Regions from separate parts of the Homo sapiens genome. Here region 2 is linked to region 1. The links are contacts of gene promoters, found by promoter capture Hi-C in blood cells and fetal thymus (Javierre and others, 2016). All regions are on one chromosome and are shown on one strand. Each heading gives the region's core, a stretch centred on a gene start or on the middle of the fragment in contact. The rest is flanking DNA. Distances are from core to core; before and after follow the strand shown. Region 1 holds the start of TBX2 (T-box transcription factor 2). Region 2 overlaps BCAS3 (BCAS3 microtubule associated cell migration factor).

What was found. Contacts are between HindIII fragments. The CHiCAGO score rates a contact against its expected background, and 5 or more counts as called.
Region 2: a contact is called between a fragment that was not itself captured here and the fragment with the promoter of TBX2 in region 1, in 2 of 17 cell types (megakaryocytes and total CD4 T cells). The highest score is 6.1, in megakaryocytes.

What each region holds. Positions count from the first base shown.
Region 1 is chr17:61,397,820-61,401,746 of GRCh38, reverse strand. TBX2 (T-box transcription factor 2) reads right to left here and starts at 1,904. Exons shown (of 7, transcript NM_005994.4): 1 at 1,176-1,904; 2 at 1-63. The coding sequence starts at 1,570. TBX2-AS1 (TBX2 antisense RNA 1) reads left to right here and starts at 2,141. Exons shown (of 2, transcript NR_125751.1): 1 at 2,141-2,508. RefSeq lists a cis regulatory region at 1,820-1,831 and promoters at 1,820-2,067, 1,687-2,947. The HindIII fragment of the contact is 11,976 bases long and covers 1-3,927 here.
Region 2 is chr17:61,070,864-61,074,790 of GRCh38, reverse strand. The region is part of intron 19 of BCAS3 (BCAS3 microtubule associated cell migration factor); the gene reads right to left. It overlaps BCAS3-AS1 (BCAS3 antisense RNA 1), which reads left to right. Exons shown (of 6, transcript NR_186507.1): 3 at 3,909-3,927. Among named protein-coding and RNA genes, the nearest start is that of BCAS3-AS1, 63 kb to the left of the region's middle. The HindIII fragment of the contact is 1,495 bases long and covers 1,411-2,905 here.

The DNA.
Region 1 (3,927 bases), core at 655-3,154:
AGGATATACTTGGCCTTCTTGTCCAGGCCGCTGACTCGCACCTTGAAGGGGGGGAACATCCGCCTGGGAGGGAGGGAAGGGAGGAGATCCCATTGGAACCGGCTGTTCTAGGTTCCAGGACCCCACTCCTCCTTTATTTATCCCTCCTCGTTGCGCACACCGCTGCCGCCTGGCTGTTTCCCCTGTGGTCGGCTGCTCTGCCCTCTCATCACTGCCCGGACGACCCCACCTGTGGTTGTTGCTCCCAGGAGATCCCATTTCTGCCTGTCAGACCCTCTCCTAAACAGCCTCCTTTAGGCCTTGTGCTCAGATCTGGGGACCCTCTTTCTCCCTGATCTGAGATGAAAGCTGATGCCCAGGAGAGAAGTCTAGGCCCTCTAGAAATATTCTCGCTTCTCCTTAATCTCCCCGAAATTCGTTCAGGGGAAATACCCACTTGGGACGGAAGCTCCCAGAAATAAATCTGGAGGGTGTTTGTATTGGGAACTGGGCTACAGAGCCTGATAAGACATCCTGGCCGTGCAGTTCGGGGGAAGAGGGTGAACCCGAGGCCTGGATTCTCGGTGGCTGAGTCGAAGGGTGGAGGGGCCGGGGCTGTGGCTTTCTTCAGGCTTTAAGGCCTGGGGCGGCGGATGCGTCCAGGGCTCGGATGCCCGCGGTGGAGAAAGGGCTCCCAGCCCGGTGAGGCGGAGGGCTCGGCTGACCCGGGGCTCGCTGCCAGGAACCGAGCAACCAGCGTGGGGTTAGCTGGGCCCAGGTCCCACTAGGGGCTTCGGGGTCGGAGCAGAGTCTGAGAGAGGCTGAATTTCCCCCGAGCTCGGAGACGGACCCGGACGCAGAAGAGCGAGAGCGCGGGGCGGAGGAGACCGCCAGGGCCAAGCCGCGGGGCCTCCTCTGCGCTGGGACTCAGAACGGTTGGGGCTATTCTTTAGCAGTATGTTTTCGTTTTATTTCATTCGGAGGATTTTAGCGTTTTTGTTTTAAAAAAAAATCGCTCCGGTGCCAAACGAGAAAAGTCAACTTGGTTGTCCGTGGGAGCGAAGCGTGGCGTCAGGGCCAGAACCTGGAGCCGGGAGCCGGGAGCCGGGAGTCCCCAGCTCTGCTCTGATCCGTGCAGTCCCGTGCCCCAGCCCGCCCGCCCGCCCGCGCGCCTTCCAGCCGGCCGGCAGCCCTACCTCCCGGACTTGGTGATGACCATCTCCGTGCCTAGCTTGTGGAACTGGTCCCACAGCTCCTTGGCCTCCAGCGTCACCTTGGGGTCGTCCTCCACCTCGTCCTCGGGCTCCAGGCTCTTGAGGGAGCGCAGATGCGCGGCGGGCGGGTGCGGGCCCAGTGCCGAGACGTGCAGCCCCGCCTCGGCCGCTGCTGCCGCCGCCGCCGCCGCGGCCGCCGCCCCCGCCAGGCCCGGGTCGGGCAGCGGCTTGGCCAGCGCGCCGGGCGGCAGCGCGAGTGCCGGGAAGAAGGAGGGCTGCGCCGCCGCCAGAAAGGCGGACATGGGGAAGTCGGCGGGCCGTGGCGCGTGGAACGGGTGGTAAGCCATGGCGCTGGCCGCCAGCGCCGGCTCTCTCATCGGGACATCCGGCCCAGGCGCCCGGGGGCCGGGGCCGGGGCCGGGGGCGCGCGGCTCGGACCCCCGGCCCGGGCGGCGGCGCGCGCGGTGGACGGACGACCCGGGTGGCGGGCGCAGCAGCTGCTCCTCGGGGCTTCCCGTCCGGCGCACCGCAAGGGGCACCCGGCTCTGTGCGCGGGGGCGGCGGGGGCTCTGCGCGGGGCCGGGCTGGGCCGGGCTGAGCTGGCCCGCTCCGGCGCCGGGGACCACGCGCGACTGGTTAGATCTTGTCGTGATCTCTGGAAAACTGTGACTATCTCACATGTCCTGCCCAGCTCGGATCCCCTGCGCTAACGAGCCAGGCCCCCCTTGATTGCTGATTTTACGCTTTTTGGACCAATTGTGGGTCTCCGGGGGCGGGGTTTTGACAGCTCAGGCCAAGCTCCGGCCGGGAGGGGGGGCCTGGGAGAAGGTGTCGGAAGCCTCAGCAGTAAGAAAACATGTCAACAGAATAAAATATTAACCAATGACGGGCCGCCGGGCCCCGAGACCCCTCCTCCTGCCCCGGCCCCCACCGCCCGCCCGCGCCTGCGGCTGCCTGCGCCGGACTGGAGAGCGCGGAGGGCCGACCTGACCCGCCGAAAGGGCCTGAGGCGAGGGGAGCCCGGGTCCCGGGGCCTTGGGGAAGGACCCGCAGCCGCACGCCGGCCCCAAGTGCAAAGCATTGACACGACCCCGAGCGGAGAGGGGGCGCCCTCCTTCTCCCGCGCCCAGAGGCCCGGCCGCTCTGGCCCGAGCCCCAGCCTGGCCTCCGACCCAGCTCCGGGTCGTGGCGCCGCCTGGGGGTCCCTGCGCCCCGGAAAGAGACAGCAGGCACTGGAAAGCGAGGCCGGTGGGCGGGCGAGTCGGGAGGCTCGGGCGGCCGAGGTCCGGGAGCGGATCCCAGGTGGCGGGAGCTGGTGAGTGGAGCCATGGCCGAGCCCTGCTGGGGCCGGCGCGGGCGGGAGCGGGACGCGGCCTTGCGCTGGGGAAACGCGGGGACCCCCTACCCGCGCCCGCCTTCACCGGAAGACTCGGAAGGAACCTGGAGTTCTCCGCAGGCCCGGGCCCCGCCCTGAGCTTTCCAGCGGCCGGGAGGAGCGGATCCTCGGGGCCAGGAAGGTGAGCGCACCTTTCGCTGAGCACAGGGCGGCACCGCGCGGGCGGACCCCGGATTCTCCACCCGCGACCCAACGAATTTTCGCCCTATCCGGTACCGGAGACGAAAGTCTCCTTCTTCCGAAATACCGGCTTCCTCTCTTCGCCCTGCCAACCACTTTTTTAGTTTCTTCTCATCTCTCGGAAGCGCACGTCTCCTAAGTTAAGGAGTGCTGAGTAACGCGTGAGGGAGTTGGGGTGTCTGCGAGCACCTGTGATTGAAGCCCCCTCTTCTGTGATCAGTCTTCGTTTTCTGTCTTCCGGCAGCCTCAGTTTCCCCCCCATGAAGTGATGGTGTGTGTGTGTGTGTGTGTGTGTGTGTGTGTGTGTGTGTGTGTGTCGGGCCCCGTGTGGTGCCCTCTGTGCGCAGCGAGAGCTATAACTCAAGGTGTGCACGGGGAGAGTGAAGCGACCACGCACCTGCTTCCAATCGGGCTCGGGCGCGAACACTCAGGCTGATTCCTGAAGGTCGTTTTCTGAAGGAAAAGACAGAGCATGCACTAGCCACGGGTGACATTCCCACCCGTACAACCGCGTGGTGGGCGCGTACATCCAACATTGACCCATGCAGGCGCCCGCCCACTGCGCACACCGGTCGCAGGGCACTTCGTTGTTGAACGTTGGGAGCAGCGTTTGAAGGCCGGATCTCTCCTGGCAGTGCGGATTCGGGACCGGCGGAAGCAGTATGGCCTCTGCGACCGTTATCCCTACTTTTCGGGGCCGACCCCAGGGCCCTCACAACTCCTCATCACCGCATATGTGAGCGCCGCCCCCACAGGGTTTTCTCCACGACCTCGTTCTTGGCTAGGTCGCACCTCTCTTAGTACCTCCTCTCTGGCCAGAACGAATCTTTGACTCCGAGCTGCGCAGTCTACGCAGACGGGGCAGGATCCACTGCAGTTTTCCACAGGCAAATACCTGCTGGCTCCACCTTAGGCGAGATGTGGCCTCTCGGGGAGGGACCCGTTGTGGACACGTTTGCGCAGCCGGTGAGGTGACCAGATAATAACCAGGGCAGCTTTCCTTAGCCGGGAACCCAGGTACCGGCCTAGGAATCCGTGAATACATTCGCAAAGTCGCGCGCGCGCGCGCGCGCGTGTGTGTGTGTGTGTGTGTGTGTGTGTGTGTAGACACATACTTTTGTCCTTGTAAGAGTATGTGTACATCTAAATGTGTGCGTT
Region 2 (3,927 bases), core at 909-3,408, 330 kb after region 1:
TTCAAACAATTATTGAACAAGTAAGAATGAAGTTCTTAGGAATAAGATACTTTAAAAAATATCTACAGAAATTTAGTAATGCCATCTTCTTGCAATAAAAGAAATAAACAACTAACTACATATGCTAATAGCAAAAGTACACTGAAGAGCAGCGACAAATCTATTCATTGGGGGATGACATTAGGATTCTTTAAAAGAGTTTATTTAGTAGCTTCATATAAATGCTAGGCATAAACATGCACACTTAATAGAAAAAATGCTTTCAGTCCTAAAAAAAATTCATTTATCCAGAGAAATACATCATCTTTCTTAGATACCTGAGTAGTTTTCATGATTCTTAAGTGGTATGACATAGTCAAATTACAACAGCCTACTTTTTCATTCAAATAGGAACATTTGCTTAGTAAAACAATACAATGATTCAAAAATATTTACTGAGTTCCTAATATGAACCAGATATTATCTCCTCAAAATCTTAGTCTCTTCTTTGGAAGCTACGACTCACTCACTCTGTCTGTCTCCATGTCTCTAAAGGTATTTTTTTCTTTTTTTCTTCTTTTTTTTTTTAACAGCAGTTTTAGGTTCACAGCAAAGTTGAGCTAAAGATACGGATATTTCCCATATAACCCCCCAACCTCATACATGATTGTATTTAATCTTTTTTTTTTTTTTTTTTTCTTAAGAGATAGGATCTTGCTGTGTTACACATGCTGGATTACAGTGGCATGATCATAGCTCACTGTAACCTCAAACTTCTGGGCTCAAACCATCTTCTCACCTCAGTCTAATAAGTAGCTGAGACTACAGGCATGAGCTACCAATGCCTGCCCAATATTTTCTTCCTTGTAGAGACAGGATCTCACAATGTTGACCAGGCTGGTGTCAAACTCCTGGCCTCAAGTGATCCTCTGGCTTTGGCTCTCAGAGTGCTGGGATTACAGGCATGAACCACCACGCCTGGCCTACCATTTTAATACTCAGAGAAATCAAGCAATGAAGTACTGGGAGGAACAGAGAAAAAGAGGGGAGGTAAGTAGAAAGAAAAGTAAGAAAGTAAGAGATGATCATTAAAGAAGTGTGGAAGAAATAGAAAAGAATGAGAAGCTGAAAACCCTCATAATTTCTACCACCAAAAGACATTTATATATACACATCAACATACAAAAATTTCCTTGAGTTAGATTCCTACATATGAAATCAGAGGATGTAAATATATAAATTTCTTAATATATGTTCCCAGAAAGAGTTATACACTTACCCAAGCAGTGAAAGAGAATGCCAACCTCACTGAGCTCTTGCTAGAACAAGGTAGTATTTTGAAAAACTGTATCTTAGTGAAACAGATACAAATAAAGTAGACAAAGCATAACCTAGGGCAAGATTTTAAAAGACACAGACTCACAAAAAGCTTATCTTAACTTGCTGCAAGAGGAGAAATGCTAATTCAGTGAATTACTCAGCAGAGGCATACACAGTATTAAAGTGTAAGATCTGCAGTAATCAAAACTTTTAGCTGCTAGTTCTTCAAAATCATAGTTCTACAGCCAAGCGGCATGGTGGCATTTGTACAAAACACAAATGATCACAAAAGCATACACCTACATTCTTGTGATGACAAATTATATCAAGAAGAAAAGAATATCACAATAACTATTATTTCAGCATTCTTTTGGAAATAATTGATATACATTGAAAGGCTGATAAGTAATGATATTTTCAAAAGGCTAAGTTATCTTCCCACCACTAAATTCTATATTAATTCTTAATACAGAAGAGAACAAGAGGATCCTTGAAATTCCCACCCCTTAAATACTAGTGAAAAATGTGAATATGGAAAATATGTAGAGGCTGGAAAGCAGATGAGGGCAGAGAAGATTTTAAAGAGGTGAGGTAATATGTTATGCAAATATCTGAAGGAGAGGTGTGACCAAGGGAATGTTAAGTACAAAGATTTTGAGATGTAAACATAAAGGGAATAAGTAACAGCTAGGAGGCCACTGTGGTTGGGTGGGATAAGCCATGTTGTGAGTGGAAGGTTAAGTCAGTAAGGCAAAGGAAGTAGGACCAGCAGATTACTGTGGGCTTTTCCTTTCTTCTTTTTTTTTTTTTTTTTTGGTAATAAAGCTCGAGTAATATGATGGAAAGCAATTAGCAATTTTTAAGTAGAAGTGAGTAACCATGCCTTACGTAACTAGCTAGTACCTAATGTGAATTTCTCCAAAAGTTTATGTTGTGTTTTATATATGCTGAGCCTAGACTAGTACGTGTCACAGAACAAGTACTCAATAAGTATTTACTGGGTGGTTGGAGTTTTGGATTCTGTACTAAGTAAGTAACGGCACTAGAATGGCTGGACACTTATTTATCCATCATCAAAATAGGGATAATATATTATAATGTCTGGGATTAGCTTCAAAATAACCCAGTGCAGGGATGAAGGTGGGAGGTAGAATTACAGATGAAAACAGGATTGGTCATTAGTTGATCATTGTTATAGCTGGCTGATAGGTACATGGAGGCTCACTATACTATTATTTTCTAGTTTTGTGTATGTTTGGAATTTTCCACAGTGAGAAGGGAGAAAGATCCTCTCTGCCCTCATTAACTTTCCAAAGGAAGTAATAAAGATTCCAAATATACATCTAGAAATAGTACCATAAATATGCACCCCAAAATCCTAAAGAGATTATAAGAATTTCCATCCCCTTTTTTCACCAAAAATAGTTTTCTAATTAAGCATACTTGGAAGCCATCAGAAGATGGGCAATATAAAAAATAAATCTGGTGGGATAATATTTTTCATTATCAAATAAATATCCTTCCTCTGCCTCACCATTTTTTCCATGTTTGATACATTTTTATTACTAAATTGGGTAAAAGCACAAACATCAAAACAGGAAAAGCTTATAATTAGAAGCTAACTATAATCCAAATAATTTTGAAAAGTCTGAAAGAAGAGTGCAATAAGAGAACATATTTTTTTCACAATAAATTAATCATTAATTGGCACTGTGGTGTTAAACATACAACTAGATATATTACTGTTCATAATAATTGGTAATGTAATATATTTATTAAAATCTGTTGGTCTTCCTATTATATTTAGTATTGGATTCTCTATACAGTTTTAGGAATTACAATATGTAGTATGGAATACCTTAGAACAGTCCCAACAGTATACCACCAAGCCAGAACGCTGTTCCTCCAAATGTGGTCCTCAGACCATTAACATTGACATCCCTCGCAGAGCTTGTTAGAAATAAATAACTTCAGGCTCCACCCACCCAGCCCTACTGAATTACAATCTGCATTTCAACAAGATCCCTAGGTGATTTTATTACACATTAAAATTTGAGAGCTGCATTATACAGGAGTAGACTCACTGCCATTCCTCTAAAATAGATCAGTAGTAAAAGTTTGGAGAATCTACATTATTCTTTAAAAGGAAAAAATATGAAAAACTGGTTTTCATTTGAGAGCTTAGGAGGAAAATAATTAGTTACTTATTGCCATTTCTAAAATCTAGACAAGAAAATTCTGAAATAAGCATGGTTATTATGAGATTAAGTTAGCTATAAATTATTAGGAAATTTAAAATAGAAAGGTACTATCATTTTCATAGGATTTACTTTTTTTGTCCACTTGTTATCCTTCTAAATTCTTCACTATAACCTCAAATTTCAGTATAAATGGCCATTATAGCAGAAGAGCCAGGCTCTGTTTTCCATGGCTGATGTTGGGGGACATATCAAGCCAGTATATGCATAAGTTAAAGGGACAGATCTAAAATGTTCAGCTTACCAGTATTTAATACTTTTCTTAGTTTTTGTTGTAGTTGTTGTTGTTGTTGTTTTAGTCAAAGGTGGTTAAGTGTTTGGAAATGACCTTAGGTGGCTTCTGTTTTACAGATATGACCTGCCAGCGTCA